Regions from separate parts of the Homo sapiens genome. Here all the other regions are linked to region 2. The links are contacts of gene promoters, found by promoter capture Hi-C in human tissues and cell types (Jung and others, 2019). All regions are on one chromosome and are shown on one strand. The core of a region is centred on a gene start or on the middle of the fragment in contact, and the rest is flanking DNA. Distances in the headings are between cores, read along the strand shown. Region 1 holds the start of LOC105370871 (a long non-coding RNA gene). Region 2 holds the start of C15orf61 (chromosome 15 open reading frame 61). Region 3 overlaps PIAS1 (protein inhibitor of activated STAT 1).

Evidence for each region. Contacts are between HindIII fragments. The study calls those that stand out against the background at their distance.
Region 1: a contact is called between a fragment that was not itself captured here and the fragment with the promoter of C15orf61 in region 2, in 1 of the 25 tissues and cell types used here (lymphoblastoid cells).
Region 3: a fragment that was not itself captured here is called in contact with the fragment with the promoter of C15orf61 in region 2 in 1 of the 25 tissues and cell types used here (mesenchymal stem cells).

The regions. Positions count from the first base shown.
Region 1 is chr15:68,183,614-68,187,609 of GRCh38, forward strand. It overlaps PIAS1 (protein inhibitor of activated STAT 1), which reads left to right. Exons shown (of 14, transcript NM_016166.3): 13 at 17-54; 14 at 3,929-3,996. It overlaps LOC105370871 (a long non-coding RNA gene), which reads right to left and starts at 3,933. Exons shown (of 2, transcript XR_932396.3): 1 at 1-3,933. The HindIII fragment of the contact is 6,521 bases long and covers 1-3,996 here.
Region 2 is chr15:67,519,472-67,523,481 of GRCh38, forward strand. C15orf61 (chromosome 15 open reading frame 61) reads left to right here and starts at 1,660. Exons shown (of 2, transcript NM_001143936.2): 1 at 1,660-2,123. The coding sequence starts at 1,778. IQCH-AS1 (IQCH antisense RNA 1) reads right to left here and starts at 2,373. Exons shown (of 6, transcript NR_040052.1): 1 at 2,048-2,373. RefSeq lists enhancers at 1,247-1,326, 1,967-2,086 and a silencer at 1,507-1,856. The HindIII fragment of the contact is 11,118 bases long and covers 1-4,010 here.
Region 3 is chr15:68,129,993-68,134,051 of GRCh38, forward strand. All of the region lies in intron 2 of PIAS1 (protein inhibitor of activated STAT 1), which reads left to right. Among named protein-coding and RNA genes, the nearest start is that of CALML4, 73 kb to the right of the region's middle. The HindIII fragment of the contact is 5,073 bases long and covers 1-3,837 here.

The DNA.
Region 1 (3,996 bases), core at 252-2,751, 660 kb after region 2:
ATTTTTTCTTCCACAGGATTAGATTTCTTTCCTTTCTTATCAGGAGACAATCAGGTATGTTATGAAAAATTTACTATTATTTTAATTGTACATTAAAAATACAGTCATGCGCCACATAATGACATTTTGGTCAATGACAGGCCATATATGCATTCCATAAGATTATAATGGAGCTGAAAAATCCCTACATCAATTATAGCCATGGTAACATTGTAGCACAAGGCATTACTCACATGTTTGTGGTGTTGCTGGTGTGAACAAACCTATGCTGTCAGTCATGTAAAAGTATCACACGTATAATTATGTACAATATAACGATAATAAACAACTCTGTTACTGGTTTATGCATTTACTATATTTTTTATTGTTATTTTAGAGTGTACCTCTACTTTTTTTTTTTTTAAGTTTGCTGTAAAACAGTGTGCCATGTTATTCCAGGACAGCCTCATACATCCCAGTTTGCCACATCTCTTGATTGCATCATTTCCTCTTGTGCTTGATGAAAATCTTGTCTTGTTTTGTTCATCATGGCCCCTAAGCATACAAAATCCACAGCTAATGTTGCCAGTAAGAGGCCACATCGAGTGACTGACATGGAAAAAAATTAAGTGATTAAGGACGATGAAAGTGGAAGATCAGTGATAGTTATTGCTCACCAGTCAGGCAGTCCCATTCTACCATAGCTACAGTCTTAAAGAACAAGAACAAAGTGATAGAAGCTGTTAAAGGATCTGCTTTGTTCAAGGCAACAAGACTAACAAAAATTTGAGAAGGGCCTGTATCAGATATGGAGAAACTTGTTAGTGACCTGGATTGAAGACCAGACACAGAAACATATCCCTCTCAGCACCATAATGATCATGGCCAAAGCAAAAAGTTTGTTTGCAATGCTTAAAGAAAAGACTGGACCCAACTACAGTGTTAAATGTACTGCTAGCTCCGGGTGGTTTAAACGATTGAAGAATCATTATTCATTATGTAATATCAAAGTGAGTGGAGAGTCTGCAAATGCAGATGTGAAGGCAACTGAAGAATTTTTGGAAACTCTAGATAAGCTGATTATGAAGGAAGATTACTTGCCAGACAAATTTTCAATACGCATGAAACCTCCCTATTCTGGAAATAAATGGCTGAAAGGACTTTCATCCATAAAGAAGCCAAGTCAATGCTAGATTTCAAGGCTTTTAAGGACAAGATAACAGTCTTGCTTGGGGCCATATTGCAGGCTACAAATTGAAACCCTTTGTGATCTGGCACAGTGAGAACTCCAGAGCCTTCAAGCATGTCAGCAAGCACACACTGCCCGTGTACTACAGGAGCAATAAGAAGTCATCGATGACCCAGCTTTTCTTCCAGGATGTCCTCCCGAATTGCTGTGCCAGCAAAATGGAGAAGTACTGTTGAGAGAGTAACATACTTTTCAAGATGATGATTTTTGTTGATAATGCTCCCACACATCCTCATTTCATTGGTGATCTTCATCCCAATATCAAAGTGTTGTGTCTCCTTCCATATACCACCTCTTTGATCCAACCAATGAATCAAGGAGTTGTAGCAGTTTTTAAGGCCTATTAAAAGATCCTAAGGAGGATCTTTGCCCAGGCTATTGCTGCAACTGAAAAACACCGAGAGGACACTGATGCAATTCTGGAAGGTTTACAACAGCTATGACTGCATCAAGAACCTTGCTTGGGCATGGACTGATGTCACCAAGGAGTATGTGAATGACATCTAGAAGACACTGAAGAAGTTTGTTCATGACTTCAAAGAATCTGCTAAGGATGAAGAGGTTGCAGAAATGGACAAGGCTGTGGTTGACATGGCAAACAACTTTAACCTAGATGTAGATGAGGATGACATTGAGAAGCTCCTAGATGTGGTTCCTGAGGAATTGACTAATGAGCTGTTGGAACTGGAACAGGAACACGCAGCTGAAGAAGGTGCAAGAGAAAAGGAAACTGCAGGAGACAAAAAGGAAGAACCTCCAAGAAAATTCACAGTGAAAGGTTTAGCAGAAGCTTTTGCAGACCTCAACAAGCTCCTTAAAAAATTTAAAAACATGGGCCCTGGCTGGGCGCTGTGGCTTACACCTATAATCCCAGCACTTTGGGAGGCCAAAGCGGGTAGATCATGAGGTCAGGAGTTCGAGACCAGCCTGACCAACATGGTGAAACCCCGTCTCTACTAAAAATACAAAAATTAGCTGGGCGTGGTGCTACACGCCTGTAATCCCAGCTACTCGGGAGGCTGAGGCAGAAGAATCACTTGAACCTGGGAGGCGGAGGTTGCAGTGAGCCGAGATTGCGTGCACCACTCTACTCCAACCTGGGTGGCAGAGCGAGACTCCATCTCAAAAACAAAACAAACAAAAAAAACATGGGCCCTAACAATGAAAGGTTTTCATTAATAGAGAGGAATGTTTATGGTACATTATCTACTTACAAGCAAACCTATGATAAAAAAGAAACCAAGCCAAACACCATGGACATATTTCTGAAAAGAGTGACACCTCCTTAAGAAGAGCCTCAGGCAGGTCCTTCAGTGGGTGTTCCAGAAGATTGTTGTCATAGCAAATGACAGCTCCATGCATGCTATTTTCCCTGAAGACCATGCAGTGGGACAAGCTGTGCAGATGGAAGACAGTGACATCGATGACCCTGACCTCCCTGTGTAGGCCTAGGCTAATGTGTTGTGTGTGTCATTTTTAACAAAAAAGTTAAAAAGTAAAAAATATTTTAAAATGTTAAAAATAGAGACTTACAGAATAAGGATATAAAGAAGGAAATATTTTTGTTCAGCTGTACAATGTACTTGTGTTTTAAATTAAGTGTTACAAGAGTCAAAGTTTTAAAAAATCAGTTTATAAAGTAAAATTAGTTAGCTAATGTTAATTTATTATTGAAGAAAGAAAAATATTTTTAACACATTTAGTGTGGCCATAGTGTACAGTGTTTATAAAGTCTACAGTAGTGTACAATAATGTCCTAAGCCTCACATTCACTCACCATTCACTCACTGGCTCACCCAGAGCAACTTCCAGTACTGCAGGCTCCATTCATGGTAAGTGCCCTATACAGGTGTATCATTTTTTTATCTTTTATACCATATTTTTACTGTACCTTTTCTATGTTGAGATATACACATACTTAGCATTGTGTTACAGTTGCCTACGGCATTCAGCACAGTAACATGCTGTACAGGTTTGTAGCCTGGGAGCAGTAGGCCAGACCACACAGCCTAGGTGTGTAGCAGGCTCTACTGTCTAGGTTTGTGCAAGCACACTGTGATGTTTGCACAGCCACAAAACCGCCTAATGATGCATTTCTCAAAACACATCCGTGTCATTAAGCGACGCATGACTGTATTTAAAAGTATAATGTGTAGCCAAGAGAAAGATAAATTTCCTTGGAAAACTTAGAGTAATCATACCCATTATCATTATGGCTTTAAAATTTAAATAAAAATTCTAACTTTCAGTGGTGCCTGAGTGTATAATAAGAACAGTGTCTGTTGGTTTCCAGTACTGTTTTATAAAGAAACAGGGCAGTGAGTCATATTGACTGATAGATTTCTTGGCTAAGTATCTCCTTACTAGCAAGAGCATGGACTGTCTGCCCCTCCTGCTGCTTCTGAGCATATGCTTCTTGGGAAATAGAATTGGTAATTGCTTGCAATACAAACTAAAACAAAAAACAATAAAATTTATATTTTGTTTTTCCTCCAGTTTCAGATACAAAAATGTCTTCTCAAGATCAATGCTCCAGTCCTTACATAAGGCCATTTGATTTTGCAAAATGTCTTAGTAAATATTTCAGAAACCCTAGATACTCAGGCTATCTTAAATTTAGGGCTGTGTCCCGCTGAGGAGAAAATATATTAATTTGGAAGTATAATTAACATTTTTGTGTCTTTTGTTTCCCCTCCCTAGCATTACAACACCTCCTTGCTTGCCGCTGCAGCAGCAGCAGTTTCAGATGATCAAGACCTCCTACACTC
Region 2 (4,010 bases), core at 410-2,909:
CGGCCTAAAGCATAAGTTTTAACCAACTTTATATGTTGGGGACCTTCAACAGATTTCGTTTGAAAAAGGACTCCACTCTTTTTCAAAATTTAATTTGGTCAGGTGCAGAAGCTCACACCTGTAATCCCACCACTTTGGGAGGCCGAGGCGGGCGGATCACTTGAGCCCAAGTGTTCAAGACCAGCCTGGGCAACATGGCAAAATTCCACCTCTACAAAAAATACCAAAAAAAGCAGCCGAGTGTAGGTGGCACACACCTGCAGTCCCAGCTACTTGGGAGGCTGAGGGTGGGAGGATCTCTTGAGCCCAGGAGGCAGAAGTTGCAGTGAGCCGAGATCGAGCAGCTGCACTCCAGCCTAGACAACAGTGAGATCCTTTCTAAAAAAAAGAAAAGAAAAAGAAATTCTATAAAGTTCAAGTTCTATAAGGTAAAGTTCAACTTCAAATTCTGTAAGGTAAAGTTCAAGATTCGGCATATGTTGGTGGGTGCTCAATGTTCAATAAAAACTGGGGAATAGGCCTGGTGCAGTGGCTCACGCCTGTAATCCCAGCACTTTGGGAGGCCGAGGCAGGTGGATCACGAGGTCATGAGTTTGAGACCAGCCTGGCCAACATGGTGAAACCCCGTCTCTATTAAAAATACAAAAATTAGCCAGGCGTGGTGGTGCACGCCTGTAATCCCAGCCACTCGGGAGGCTGAGGCAGGAAAATCACTTGAACCTGGGAGGCAGAGGTTGCAGTGAGCTGAGATTGCACCACTGCACTCCAGCCTGGGCAACAGAGTGAGACTCCGTCTCAAAAAAACAAAACAAAACAAAACAAAAAACTGGGGAATATAAAATTTCGCCATACTATCCTACATCCCCCTTGAGTTTTTAGCAACGATAGTAATTGTTATATGATGCTTAACGCGTAATTACTGTACCTCATTTACATAAGGTGGTTTCAGACACATCATCTTGTTTATGTATGGCCTCTCCAAACAAAATGAGTTTAGGACAAAAGAGGAAATCCTTTTCTAAAAGCAGTTTTGTCCGTAAGTTACTGCCTCAAGAGGCCGCAAAGTTTGAGCAAAGCTTTTCCGAAAGTAATGGATTGGTAATGGGTGACTGAGGTCCACAAAGCTCGATAAGAGGCTCCTGGTCCGTCTACCAGGTTCTTAGAGGGAGGTGCCTTTGTGTGTTCGGACGCTGCACTGAGACACGTGAGGTTTTTAAATAAACTTTTGATTTTGAAATCTCTGGGACTAATTTTAAACAGTGAACCCGACAGCGAGGACCTACACACAAAAGTGCTCCCGGCCTTACCAAACAACGCAGACCCGGGGTCACGCCTCGTCCTGTTTCAACAACAACACCCAAGGGCTTCCCTGGAGCCCAGGGCGTGGGAGGGAGACTTGGGTTTGAGTTCTGCACCTTGCGGAGGTGGTTAGTTATTTAATTGTCTTCCACCTGAATTTTCCTCAGGCCCAAATTGATGAGACCTCCCCGAATCCCTCCCCTGCCCGAGTTACTAATGACGGCGTGAGGTCACACCTGGCCACTCAAAACCAGCTCCTTGACGCAGGTGACCCTCCGCCTCGCGCAGCTCACGCTTCCCATCCCCCGGACTCCACCCCCAGCGGGAGGCCACGGGGCCGCTGTGCGCACGCGCCGCCGCACACCGGGGGCTCTCGGGCACCCGCGCGGCGCCGGTTGGCCTTCCCGGCGCTCGCCCGGGGGCGCGCTTGCGCGCCAGCGGCTGCGGACACCAGCCTGCGTCCCCGGCGCGGCGGGCCATGGAGGCCCTGAGGAGGGCCCACGAGGTCGCGCTCCGCCTGCTGCTGTGTAGGCCGTGGGCCTCGCGCGCCGCCGCCCGCCCCAAGCCCAGCGCCTCGGAGGTGCTGACGCGGCATCTGCTGCAGCGGCGCCTGCCGCACTGGACCTCCTTCTGCGTGCCCTACAGCGCCGTCCGCAACGACCAGTTCGGCCTCTCGCACTTCAACTGGCCGGTGCAGGGCGCCAACTACCACGTCCTGCGCACCGGCTGCTTCCCCTTCATCAAGTACCACTGCTCCAAGGCTCCCTGGCAGGACCTGGCCCGGCAGAACCGCTTCTTCACGGCGCTCAAGGTCGTCAACCTCGGTGAGTGGCGACTGCCGCGCCCACGCGGTGAAGCCCGCCCGGCCGGGACGGCCCCTCAGCCACCGAGCACGTGACGAACGCTCGCAGGCCGGTAGAGTCCCGCGGGAGTCAGCTCTGCCTCCCGGCGCCGGCTTCGCCTGGGGTCCTTTGTACTCCTCGCCCAGGGGGTCCCCAGCTTGCTGAGCTCCTGGCACCCGAAGCCGTTCGCCTGCTGCGGGCGCGTCCTCGGGCCTAGGGAGGGGCGGGTCGCCCTCCTGTCCTGCCCATGTTAACCAGAGTAGACCCCTGGCCTGGGCAGTAAGCCAGGGGGCGTCAGGAAACGCCCCCTAGAAAGTGGCTCTGAAGTTGACATCCGTCCTACTGCATGGCAGGACTCATTCCCGTGAACATCACTTTGCAGCTGCGTTTATGTTGCAATAACTGGAACTACTCTTTTAAGTTTCTTTTGTTTTCTTTGTATGAATTCCCGGCAAGTTCGTTTTACTAAAAGCACCAAAGGTTTTCACCAGACATAACAGCTTCCTGAGGTGCTAGGCCTAAAAGATTTTTAAAGATCTTTAATATTTGTATATTTTCATGGAGACGCCCTGAGGATGTTTACTGTCACTAGGTGTTTATTTTCTTTTGGTTTAATGACAGAAGAGGGAGGTACGAACATGGACATGGGTGTATCTTTTATAGGTCAGGGGAAAACAGAAGGCCTCAAGATGTTTTGAACTTACTAATAGCTGGCATAAAATCAATCTAGATTTCAGTGATTCAAAATCTAGCCATGGAGCTGAATGAACCATGTTACCCAGCCAGGTTTTTAAAGCCAGGATTAAAACTAAACCCTGCGCAGCCGTACTACTAATACTATTACATAATCTGATCGTCCATTAAGGTTAAAAATAGTCTGTGTATTTGTGCTTATAATAACACATATGTCAGTCGTGGGCTTTTTGAGCCGTTACTCCACTGGACTGTCCTGTAAGGAGATAATTGTTTAGCAACGTGTTATCCTTTAAAAATGCCTCTTATTATTTGGCTGATGGACTGTATAGAGCATGCCCACTACTTTGGAGGTTGGTTGAAGTTGAAGGGTGAGGTGACTTAGGAAATTCAATTCGAAATTATTTGGAAAGACTGGAGTGTTAACTAGATTCGAGAAGTATAAGTTTATTTTAGCATTTTTCATAAGTAAGAAATCATTCTTCCCTAAAGAATAATAGGTTAGGAAAAGCATAACGGGAGAGTTATAGGTAAACCATGAGCCAAATGCCTTTTTTTCCTTTAAAGTCACATTTTTAGTGTTGACATTTTGTTTAAGAGCACCTTAATGATTAGGGGCCTCTCTTTTAGATTTAGAGATTAAGACATCCAAAAAAAGTGGATACTCAGAACATTCCACACATAGAAAAGTAAAACCTTTTAAAGTTGAAAGAAACAACAGTTGTAGTGTTTTTTGTTTTGTTTTGTTTATTAATGTGGGAGAGTGATTTAATGGTCTGTATGGTCTTTTGGACATTCTAAAAATCCTGCTAAAATGGGAGTAAGAGTTCTAAGTTAAGCAAAAAGGACAACTTTTTGCTCATGCATGCTTTAATACAAATTGGGATATACTGATAAAGGGAATTAAAAAATATTTTAAAGTGGTGAACACATCTGGTAACGTTTATTTTTAATTTTTGTCTGAAGGTAGAGGGGATGTGAATTAGATAATAGGTCCTTTCCTATTCTGTGAGGTACAATCGTCTCTCTGGGTGATAAAGTACATATCCTATTAATATTATACTTAGGATTTTGTTCCTCTTCTTCCCTTCCAAATTCATTTTTCCATTTTGTAAATAATAAAGATTTCTGTTTACCCATTTGCTCCTTTTCTCCTCCGTCTTCCCTTCAATGGAA
Region 3 (4,059 bases), core at 51-2,550, 610 kb after region 2:
AGTGAGTATTGCATATTTTCTATAATTGGAAATAAAAAAGATATGTTCATTTTGAGGGGGGGAAGCAATATTTCACCATACGAAACTAGAAAAAATAGTTTATTACGCATTGCATGCCTGTATCAAAATATTTCATATACCCCATAAATATATACACCTGTATACCCACAAAAATTAAAAATAAAGATTTTTTAAAAATAGGAAAAAAGGTGGAATTAATAAATAAACCTTAAAAGAAAAAGGCTTATGAAAGAGGCAAAATATATAAGCTTCTTGCAGATCTGATTAAACAAAATCAACCATAGAAAGTAGATTTAAATCACATAGAAGAAATATATGTATATAAATATTAGGAGCAATACATTTACACAGTTATATGTTAATAAATTTCAGAAACCTCTATGAAGTTTCCAGATATATTAAACATTCCAAATGTTTTTTTCTACATGTATATGCAGTGAAAATAATGTATAAAATGTGATATACTGATAACTTGACAATATTATCAAAGAACTACTTTTTAAAAAAAGAAAAACTCTGGGTTTGATACATTTGCTGGTAAATTCTTCAGAACTTTTTTTGAGGAATAAACAATTTCTGTATACTACAAAATGTTCTCAGTTATTAAAAAGTAAGCAGGCCAAAGAGGAATACAAAGAAACAAAGGTAACACTTAAAAAAAAAAAAAAAAAGCTATCATTCAGTTTCACTTTTTGAATATAGTTGTGTTCCTTAAAATATTAACTGGTAGAATTTATCAGAATATTGGAGGAATAATAAGATTTAAATTAGGCTAAGTCTACTGGACTAAAACCTTGATAGAGATATATATCCTCTATCCAGAAGTCATAAATAGTTCAGTATTAAGAAATATATTAATTCATCAGATGTAATAATAGCTAACATTTATTGACTGCTTACTTTGGGTTAGGTAGGCACTGTTATAAGCGGTTTTATATTTTTATTTAGTTATCAAAATAATTCTAAGGTTTCTCTAGGGTTATATTACCTAGATGAAGAAATTGAAGCATGGAAATGTCAGACAGTGTGCCCAAGGTCACACAATTACTGAATGACAGAACTGGGGTAAGCACGCGGACTTCTGACTCCAAGAATCCATTAGCTTATTTGGAGTTTAAATAGAAACTTTAAAAGGTTTCATAAAATTAAATGCCCATTAATAATTTTTTTAAAAAGAAGTAGAAAAAGTGTTCTTTAACATTATAGGGAATCTTTATAGTCAACAGACAGCTTTATATTTATTTATTGAAAAATTATAGATGTATATATTTATGGGGCACAGAGTGATGTTACGATCTTCGACTACCATGTGAAATGCTTAAATCAACTAATGTATCAAGCTGATATGTTAATCAATTTCCACAACTATTTTACATTTTTTAGGTGATGAGAACATTTGAAATTTACTCTTAGCAATTTTAAAATGTTACTAGCTATGTTCACTGTGTTGTGCAATAAGATCTTATTAAAAAAAAAACTTATTTCTCCTATCTTCTAACCATATCTGGTAACCACCATTCTACTCTTTGTTTCTATGAGTTTGATTGTTTTAGATTCCACATATAAGTGAGAGCATGCAGTATTTGTCTTTCTGTATTTGGCTAATTTCACTTAATAAGCATAGTATTGTCTAATTCCATTCATGTTTGTCACAAATGACAGAATCTCTCTCTGTTTTAAGGCTGAATGCTTTTCCATTATGTATACTTATTTAGGACCACATTTTCTTTATCCATTCATCTGTTGATGAACACTTAGGTTGATTCCGTACTTGGTATTTTGAATAGTGCTGCAATGAACATGGGAGTGTAGACATCTCTTTGACATACTGTTTTCGAATCTTTTGGGTAAATACCTAGAAGTGGGATTGCTGGGTATTTATTTATTAGTTTAAAAAAAAAATCCTAGGCTGGGCGTGGTGGCTCATACCTGTAATCCCAGCACTTTGGGAAGCCAAGGCAAGTGGATTGTCTGAGTTCAGGAGTTTGAGACCAGCCTGGGCAATGTGGCAAAACCTCCTCTAAAAAAAAAAAAAAAGAAAAGAAAAGAAAAAAAGAAAGAAGAACCCTAGAGGTAGTTACTAATAATGGAGGTGCATCAGAATTATTCCCAGTGGGGGCTAAACTCCCAGACATGTATGTTTTGAAGCAGCTTTGTGGGTGATTGTTAAAAACTACAGTGTTGGCCGGGCATGGTGGCTCACACCTGTAATCCCAGCACTTTGGGAGGCTGAGGCGGGCGGATCACGAGGTCAGGAGATTGAGATCATCCTTGCTAACACGGTGATACTCCGTCTCTACTAAAAATACAAAAAATCAGGGCGTGGTGGCCCTCACCTGTAGTCTCAGCTACTCGGGAGGCTGAGGCAGGAGAATCACTTGAACCTGGGAGGTGGAGGTTGCAGTGAGCCGAGATGGCACCACTGCACTCCAGCCTGGGTGACAGAGTGAGACTCTGTCTCTAAAAAAAAAAGGAAACTACAATGTTAAAGGTACATCAAATTTTACAGCAAAGAAGTCACCCTGGAAGATCTACAAATATTCTTGTAAAAGTTCTGGCCTATACAATAAGACATGAATTAGAACTAGAGGTATAAATGTTAGAAAGGAAAATTAAATTTTTCCTTACTTATGGTTAAGGGAAGGTTTATCTGCAAATCCTAAGGAATTGGCTATAAAACTAGGGTTAAGTTCAATTTGAGTGGCAAAATAGAGCTTAGAAGAACAAAAACCGAAATTATGTAATAACCACTTTGAATAACAACCAAAGTGAGAGTCCACGCAAAATATAAATATTAAAAAGTTAGAAATACTCATTTTTGCTCAGTTTTATCTTTTGAATTTGATTTAAACGTAAAAATTAACTAGAAAACTATTAAAATTCTTCCTATTTCTTATCCCATTCTCTGTCTCTCATAGGTAATCATTTTTAATTAATTTCAGTTTATCCTTCTGGTTTTCTTTTCTTTTCTTTTTTTTTTTCCGAAAAAAGCCAGTAGCTTTATGTATTATTACTTCCTCTCTTACACAGAAAGTAGTAGCATACTGTATTTTTTTAATATTGTCGTTGTCACTTTAATGATGTATCTTAGAGAGATCACTCCCATACCAACACATAGAAATCATCTTCATTCTTTCTTTGGTTTTAGGGTATTCTATGAATGTTTATTCAATCATTCTTCTATTGGTAGGTATTTTACTAAGAATGACATTAATGGGAACAGTGTAACTAATCTATGATAGAAATAAAACCTTGAAGATATGAATAAATGGACACAGGTGCAATAGTCCAAGACAGGAAGGTTAAAGATGTAAATATATCAGCTCTCAAAATAATTCATAGGTTTATTGTAATTCTATTCAAAATACTATTGAGCTTTAAAAATCATAACAAAAAGATTTGGAAATTCATCTAGATGAATTAAAAAAAATGGATAGAGAAAAACCTAACTATAAGATAATGAAACAGTGAAGCTATAACAAAAAATAGAGTACCAGCACCAGGATAAAAAAGATAATTGGGAACGTGGTCCAGAATGAAACATACAGGACATAAGGATTTAATATATGATAAAAGAAGCACACATATCCATAGGGAAGGGAAAGTTTATTTAACAAATGGTGTTAGTGTAACAGTAAGCAATTTGGAGTACTGAAATTTAGATTTTTATTTTTATTTTTTATTTTTTTTTTTGTTTTTTTAATTTAATTTTATTTTATTTTATTTATTTATTTTTTTTAATTGATCATTCTTGGGTGTTTCTCGCAGAGGGGGAGTTGGCAGGGTCATAGGACAATAGTGGAGGGAAGGTCAGCAGATAAACAAGTGAACAAAGGTCTCTGGTTTTCCTAGGCAGAGGACCCTGCAGCCTTCCGCAGTGTTTGTGTCCCTGGGTACTTGAGATTAGGGAGTGGTGATGATTCTTAACGAGCATGCTGCCTTCAAGTATCTGTTTAACAAAGCACATCTTGCACCGCCCTTAATCCATTTAACCCTGAGTGGACACAGCACATGTTTCAGAGAGCACAGGGTTGGGGG